Linked DNA regions of Homo sapiens: region 1 is linked to region 2. Evidence: promoter capture Hi-C in 16 types of primary human blood cells and fetal thymus (Javierre and others, 2016). All regions are on one chromosome and are shown on one strand. Each heading gives the region's core, a stretch centred on a gene start or on the middle of the fragment in contact. The rest is flanking DNA. Distances are from core to core; before and after follow the strand shown. Region 1 overlaps COL4A4 (collagen type IV alpha 4 chain). Region 2 holds the start of SLC19A3 (solute carrier family 19 member 3).

Region 1 (4,211 bases), core at 1,183-3,682, 580 kb after region 2:
CTCAGGCTGTTCTCAAACTCCTGGCTTCAAGTGATCCTCCCTCCTTGGCTTCCCAAAGTCCTGGGATTACAGGCATGAGCCACTGTGTGAAGCCGGTCTTGAGCCACTTTCATAATATAATTTTAAAAGTGAAGCTTCAAGAAAACAAAGTCCTTAGCTTTTTTGTGTAAATGTGCACATTATATAGAAAAAAAGCCTGGCTTTTCTGTGAGGTTATTAATGTAAATATACCAAGATTGTACAAATGCAAAAAGGAAAAAAAACCTCAGTGCCTCTAAATTTTATGACTTTGAGCTTCAGGACCAAGATAAATAGATTTGATCAGCCCTGTGGCAAGAAAGAGATGAGCCGACCCCAAAACAAAGAGGACCAGTTGCTTTGATAAAGGCACCTCAGTGGGTCTCCCAATGTGAATGAGGCTGAGAGTTGTTTTAGCAGAAAAGGGGATGCTACTGGTTTCCAGCAAGTAGAGACCAGAAGTGCTGTTCAACATCTTACAATGCACAGGACAGTCCCCACACCAAAGAATTATCCATCCCAAATGCCAACTGTGCCAAGATTGAGAAGCCCTGTTCTAATCTCACCTCTGCTCTGTGATGCAAGTATTATTATTTCCACCCTTCAGAGCAAGGAAACTAAATTCCCAACAGTTCTAAATAACTTGCTAGGATGCAGGAGAACCAGGAATCACACCCACGTGTCTGGCTTCAAACCCAGCATTTGCTCCATGATCGTGGAAAGATCATTACACGAAGGTACCAACTGCTGGGTTGTAGCATCACTTTGTAAACTTGGGTTGCCACTTGACTCTGACCAAGCCTGGGTTTCCTTGCACGTACCCCCATTGGTCCTTCTCTTCTATGTCCTTGGGCTGTTAAACAAGCGCAAGGCATTGCATGTGTAGATGGTGTACTTTCCACCCTCTAAGCAGTCTCTGGATAGGGAAGGCTCCCAGTCCTGAGCGGCACTCTGCTGTGTGTGTCTTTGTGTCTGCGTGGTCAAGGAGAGCTGTGTGTGCCACAACAGGGAGCCTGTGGTCTTCCTGAGATGAATGGGTTTTCCATGGGAAGGCTGCAAGTCGTTGTGACATCTTCCAGCGAGGATTTGGGAGTGTGACTTGTGCGTAACAGAAGGTGGTTTGGGAAAGTAGCACTGTCAAGTCCTCAGCAGCCGGCCAACCTTCTGAGCTGCAGTGACAGCTCACGGGGGACTATCAGAATAGGAACACACCAAATTCCTAAGGCTTGAGGGATCTGCCTGAGGCTGCACAGCCTTCAAGTGGCATAGCGGGCTATTCCTAAGAAGGAAAGTGTTCCTCTCTTACAGGTTAATGCCCGTAGTAGCAGTAGGTAGTAGTAGGTAGTAGTTTCATCAAACCCCACATCAAAACTGCTATGTCTAAAGCAATCGTTGACAGGCAAGGCTGGTTCTGTGCTGAGGAACGGCCATGGTTCGCAATTTAACTGGAGAGGAGAGCTAGAGTTAGAGGTGGAGATGGAACAATCTAAGGTGGAGAATCAAGGGGGGCCTCCTTTGATGTCTACAGAATGAAGTCCAGCCCCATCACTGTACTGCTGGAGGCTCACAGTCTAGCCCCAGCATGAGTTTTCATCTGTAATCCCCATTACTGCCCCTTTGACCCTCTCCAGCTGCAGCAGTTGGGCCACTCATTCACTCTTGAAGATAATCTGAATATTTCCACTTCTCTGCCCTTTTCTGAGTGCCTTCCAACTTGCACTCTGCCTCTGTCTTTCCTGTTCTTCTCAAAGGAGCTCAGTGGAGATGCCAAACCACAAGGCCTTTCTGCTCATCACAGTCAGTGTCGATGTCTCCCTGCCAGAGCCCCCTAGCAAGCTGCTTACCTGCTTCTCTTTTGCTGTACTTGTCCTGCCCTGCTCTGTAGCTCTGGCTGGATTTGAGAGTGAATGTGCCCGACTTTATTGATTAGATTGCAAGCATACACTTCTTGAAGGTGGTCATGAGAACACAAGTAAAACGTTGATCCTGATTCCTGACCCACTGTGGACACCCTTGAAATATAGTTTGCCTACCTTCACTTCTCCCCTTTGTAAACTGGGGGTCATTTTTTGTACTTTGAGATTATCACAGTAGATAGCACACAACAGGCAGTTAATACACATAAATTAAGAAACTAAAATTCAGGGGCCAGGCATGGTGGTTCACGCCTGTAATCCTAGCACCCTGGGAGGCTGAGGTGGGTGGATCACCTGAGGTCAGGAATTCCAGACCAGCCTGGCCAACATGGTGAAACCCCACCTCTACTAAAAATACAAAAAATTAGCCAGGCATGGTGGCGGGCGCCTGTAATCCCAGCTACCTGGAAGGCTGAGGCAGGAGAATTGCTTGAACCCATGAGGCGGAGGTTACAGTGAGCTGAGATTTCGCCATGGCACTTCAGCCTGGGTGACAAGAGTAAAACTCTGTCTCAAAAGAAAAAAAAAAATAGATTCCAGCCTGGACAGGATTTGGGAGCTGAGCTGGTGGTCAGGCCAGCATGCAGGGACTCTGTAGGGGGATCTCCCATACCCAAGAGAAGAGGGGGACAGAATTAGTGGGGAGCCTCTTCCCCAACCCTAGACTTTCTCCCCACACACTAGCATTTAAGCCTGTTAGGAAATGAGTAATCTCACATAGTTCAAATTCCCTTGTGAATTTCAGGTAGGGTCAGAAATAAGCACTTTGAGCAGCAGCAACAAATAAGAGGGTTGCAGCTCTTGGACCTTTTAAGGTACAATGGCACCCTAAGAGCTCCAGGCTGAGGGGAGGAGACTGGAGCTTACCTCCTTGATCTTTTTCGGGTTCAGAGCCCTCACCTGGGATGTGAGAATTTGTCCTAGAGGGGGCTGGTTGGTCCCCTCGGCTCTAGCAGCCCATGGTTCTGTGATATGGGGCGTGGGTTTTCACATATGACAGCTATTTACTTGGTTTCCCAAATGACTTGTGACCAGGCCCTAACATTTCCATGAACCTCACTATGGCCCATCTTTAAGGGTGTGAATGAGGTATATCAGGCAGGATTTTCTATTATTCCTTATCAGTTTCAAGGGAGGAAGCTCTCTGTGTTTACTGGTGGGCTCCTTGCAGGGAAAATTACATGTCCTTACAAATTAGAATGAGGACCTTTTATAAGTTATACTTTAGTAACAAGGATGATAATAAAGACACTGTCCACAGTTTTTTCCCCATATTGTTTTCTATTCAAGGGAGTATAACAATTGCAAAATTAACAAAACCTTATGATGTGGTGGTTTTACAAACACGGAGGTCAAATGACGTAAATGTCAAGAATTGTCTTAGTCTTTTTGGTTTGAAAACCAAAATCAAACGTGAGTGAGTCATTCTTTCTTCGGAGAATTTCAAATCACTAAAAAACTGCAAGTATTTTCCCTGCGATCTCATTCACTCATCCCTTATACTCCTAAGAGCTTGCATTCCATGATAAAAATGGAATTTACTTGGGAAAGTTTAATTACTGTTAACATTTTTCATTTCATTGAATTACTTGCACTCAAAGTTCTAGAACTCAGTCTCACTATCACTCACACAGCTGTGTTTTAGGACATTTTCTACCTGTAGCCTGATACATGGTTCAGAACAATAATTTTTATGTCCCCAAAGTTCACTTAAGTCAATTGTGTTCCATTTTGATGTAAACAAGTTCCAGTGACAATTAGAAGTTGGCAAAGGTGGTCTTTCAACCCCTGAGCTTGTTGGGTTTGCTTTTTTGTTCTTCTTGCTATATCTTCCTCCTCCAAGAACTCTCTGGCTCATTTTGTTACTACTGGAGAATTCCCTGGTAAATGAAGTCCCTGTCAGAGATGGCAGACTCAGATGTCCTTGGGGAACAGCTGGTGACCTGAATGTAGTAATGGGGAGAGGAGGTGCTCAGGATGGGGCTACTAGGAGCTGGACGGTGCATTTGTCATTTAAAGGCATCAGAATTCAGAATTTTTAAAAAACCCAGTGCCTAGCAATTAAACACACTCCCCAGTAAAATTCAGCCCACCAGCTTCCAGTTTATAATGTGGGCTTAGCTTGTTAAAGTGTCCCCCCTGTGTCAAGAACAGGAACCTTGATTTCTGAAGAATAAAAAACTTGCAAAAGTTAAAGCCTGAATCTTCAGCTATAGGATGATCTGTGTAGGCTTGAGTAAGGATTTCTTTCTTTTTTAAATTCTTTTTCTTTTTTTT
Region 2 (3,992 bases), core at 25-2,524:
TGGGAGATTGAGGTTGCAGTGAGCTGGGGTTGCACCACTGCACTCCAGCCTGGGAGATAAAGTGAGACTTTGTCAAAAAAAAAAAAAAAAGAAAGAAAGAAAGAGAAAAGAAAAGAAAAGAGGCCAGGTGGCCGGGTGCTGTGGCTCACACCTGTAATCCTAGCACTTTGGGAGGCCGAGGCGGGTGGATCACCTGAGGTCAGGAGTTTGAGACCAGCCTGGACAACATGGTGAAACCCCATCTCTACTAAAAATACAAAAATTAGCTGGGTGTGGTGACGGGCGCCTGTAATCCCAGCTACTAGGGAGGCTGAGGCAGAAGAATTGCTGGAACCCGGGAGGTGGAGGTTGCAGTGAGCCAAGATCGTGCCATTGCACTCCAGCCCGGGGCCAACAACAGCGAGGCTCCATCTCAAAAAAAAAAAGAAAGAAAGAAAGAAAGAAAAAAGACCAGGCGCGGTGGCTCACGCCTGTAATCTCAGCACTTTGAGAGGCCGAGGCAGGCGGATCACGAGGCCAGGAGTTCGAGATGAGCCTGGCCAATATGGTGAAACCAAACCCCGTCTCTACTAAAAACACAAAAATTAACTGGGCGTTAATTTTTGGAGGCTGAGGCAGGAGAATCGCTTGAACCCGGGAGGCGGAGGGTTGTAGTGAGCCGAGATCGCGCCACTGCACTCCATCCTGGGCGACAGAGGGAGACTCTGTCTCAAAAAAAAAAAAAAGAAAGAAAGAAAAGAGAAAAGAAAAGAAAAAGAAGAAGAAAAGAAAAAATTGTTTGTATCAGATTTTCAAAGTGCCAGGAAACCATCCCACTCTACCTCCTTTAAAAAAAAAAAGTGCAGAGTGATTATAACCACTGGCTCTGGAGCCAGGAGCCCCAACTAAAACCCAGGCTTCTCTATTTACTAGGCCTACTTCCTTCCGCCTCACTTTCTTCATGTGTAGAGTGGGGGTGACAGCCAGCCAGCCCTCTCTCCTAAGCTTTTGGAGAGAAATAAATGGATTCATAAGAAAGGACATATTTGTAAATAAAGCAAACGATCGCTGTTGGATTCAGGCCCTCTTGCTTCATTATGCTGAATGTCAGTGTATTACTTAAGTTGTTCCTTTCAGCAGAGTTGACTGTTTCTGCCCAGAAAACCGGCCCTGGGCCAGGAAAATCTGGGCTTCCACACTGGGATGAAAGGTCTGGACGCCCGGATTCGCATATGCAAAGCGTGGGGGCGTGGCCCCGGGCTCCGGGCCAGGCAGGCTCCGCCCCCTTCCCACCAAGAGCGCCTGGATCCATCCGACAGCCGCGGGTGCGTGGTCGTGCGGCAAGTGAGCGATTTGGTGAACAGACACTCCCTTCTGTAGGTAAGAATATCTCGGGGGGCGAATTAATTGAAGAAGCACCGTCATCCCTCGGTCTTAGCAGTGTCGCCTCTCTCTTCCCGGGTTTGGAGAGCTGGGGGCGGGTTCCTGGCTCTGCGGGCCTGGGCTACACTCTGAGCCGCGTGAGGAGCTCTCCCCCTACGCCGCAGCCCGCGTGCTGGGATTCACCCAAGTGGGTTTGTCTGGAATTCCCATTTGCAGCCTTCTGGAAGCGCAGATTAAATAAAATCATGATTCCCGTAAAGTGCCAGCACCTCCTATGGTTACATCCCACGTTCACAGATTTTAACTGAAAAGGCATTTTAGCATAGAATTCCAAATTCCAATCCAAGGATGGAGAAAAGGTCCTTCCTAGTGGGAAAAAGGAAGGTGAGTTTGAATTTAAGAGAGCAGGGGCTTTTTTGGGAACCACTTGAAATTTAGTTAATTGAAACTAAAAGAAAACGCAACTACACCTTACAAAAACACTGCTGGAAAGGATACCTAAGTCATCAAATAATAAATAGTGTGACAGCTGTTTACCAAATCAATGTCGCTGCCGCAAATGTGCAAAAGGTTGGGACTTTCGGAGTGCTTCAAGTTTGAAAAAGGTAAAGGAATAATGTTTTCTAAAAGTACTCTCAGGCCAGGCGCAGTGGCTCACGCCTGTAATCCCAGCACTTTGGGAGGCTGAGCGGGGCGGATTGCTTGAGGTCAGGAATTCGAGACCAGCTTGGCCCTGGGATGAAACCCCGTCTCTACTAAAAAGGCAAAAATTAGCCGGGCATGGTGGCGGGTGCCTGTAATCCCAGCTACACTGGAGGCTGAGGCTGAAGAATGGCTTGAACTTGGGAGGCGAAGGTTGCAGTGAGCCAAGATTGCACCACTGCACTCCAGCCTGGGCGACCCAGCAAGATTCTGCCTCAAAAAAAAAAAAAAAAAAAAAAAAAAAGCACTCTCATGTGTTTTGCTCCTATCAATATTGAAACATTGGTGTCTCCTGTGGCAAAAGGTGTTTTTTTCATCGAGGCACATATATTAAATAGACCAAAACATAACTTCCCAAATATCTTATAAGATTATCCTAGTAGTAGCTGAAATGGACAAAAATACCAATTTCCTTCAGTCATTATTGCTAATAGACCAACAACACTCTTTTAAGGTTGTGTAATGGTAAATGCATACACATTTATTTAACATGCACACAGGGAGAATCAGAGTGATTGATTACCCACCCTGCAACATGTCTCAGAAGCTTATAGACTACCCTGGCAAATGAGGTTACGGGAGGGAGCCGAAGAGCATCCAGCAGAAGTGGATGGGCTTCTGCTAGGGAGCATGAATGGGTCAGGGGAGAGAATAAGCTACATTATCTTGTGAATGGGTCTGTTCAGGTGTGGGGTATATTCTTGGTCTTACAGGGAAGGGAAAAGAAACAGTTGTTCCTTTTGGTGGGTCTGGATCTTAGGCAGACAAAGGTTTTTTTGAGCTGGGAGCCGGGAAGGTCAGAGAGACCTTGAGGTCTCCAGCATGTCAAAGCCCCATATTTTGGGGTATCGGCTTCTGAGTCCCGGCACTTATTAGTGACGAAACTGATGAGTCTGTAGTAGCCAGATCAAAGAAGAACCCAAAGAATGGGTACATTCGTAGATCAGGAATATTGAATAATGAAATATAGATCAGGAATATTGAAACTGGTTTTCCATGGGGGAAAGGAAGACTGTTGTCCTTCATGGGATAAACCTTATTTGCATGTCTATAGACAATAATTACTTAACATTGCCATCAGTTGTTAAAATTTACAGAGTTGTAAAATAGCTCAAATGACCTCTAATTTTTCTTTAATCCAGTTTTTTCCCTACAACACCACCTTCTCTCAGTGCATTTAATCAGAAACTTTCACTGCATCTCAAGGATTAGATGTCAGCTGACTTTCCTTTTTTGTTTTGTTTTGTTTGGGGTTTTTGAAATTTTTTTTTTTTTTTTTTTTTTTTGAGACGGAGTCTCGCTCTTGTTGCCCAGGCTGGAGTGCAGTGGCTGGGATCTCGGCTCACCGCAGCCTTGACTTTCCCTGTTCAAGCAATCTTCCCACTTCAGTCTCCCAACTACCTGGCACTATAGGCACACACCACCATGCCTAGCTAATTTTTGTATTTTTTATAGAGGTGAGGTCTCGCTATTTTGCCCAGGCTGGGCTCAGTTGACTTTCTAAGCCGTTTTATGTTTTTCTTAGTTTTATGGTTTTCTTAGGCATATTCCTCCTGCTCTCCCTAAGACTAGATTGATCTGAACATAGACATAACAGAATAAACAGAATTTGGAAGGAAATGATTAATTTACCAGCAAACACCTCATGCAAATTAAAAGGAATGGTACCATATATGATAAAATAAAATCTGAAGCATCTTAAAGATCACTTGGGCTGGGTGCGGTGGCTCACACCTGTAATCCCAGCACTTTGGGAGGCCAAGGCAGGCGGATTTCTTGAGGCCAGGAGTTCAAGAGTAGCCTGGCCAACATGGCAAAGCCCCATCTTTACTAAAAATAAAATTTTAAAAATATCACTTGTTTCTGCTCTTACAAAAACAAACAACAGAACTATTCTGGCCCACATACTGAATATCTGGGTCTAGTTT

The links. Contacts are between HindIII fragments. The CHiCAGO score rates a contact against its expected background, and 5 or more counts as called.
Region 1: a fragment that was not itself captured here is called in contact with the fragment with the promoter of SLC19A3 in region 2 in 1 of 17 cell types (naive CD8 T cells); the score reaches 5.7 in naive CD8 T cells.

Annotation. Positions count from the first base shown.
Region 1 is chr2:227,133,897-227,138,107 of GRCh38, reverse strand. The region is part of intron 4 of COL4A4 (collagen type IV alpha 4 chain); the gene reads left to right. Among named protein-coding and RNA genes, the nearest start is that of COL4A4, 28 kb to the left of the region's middle. The HindIII fragment of the contact is 4,592 bases long and covers 137-4,211 here.
Region 2 is chr2:227,715,310-227,719,301 of GRCh38, reverse strand. SLC19A3 (solute carrier family 19 member 3) reads left to right here and starts at 1,274. Exons shown (of 6, transcript NM_025243.4): 1 at 1,274-1,359. RefSeq lists an enhancer at 857-1,743. The HindIII fragment of the contact is 1,627 bases long and covers 987-2,613 here.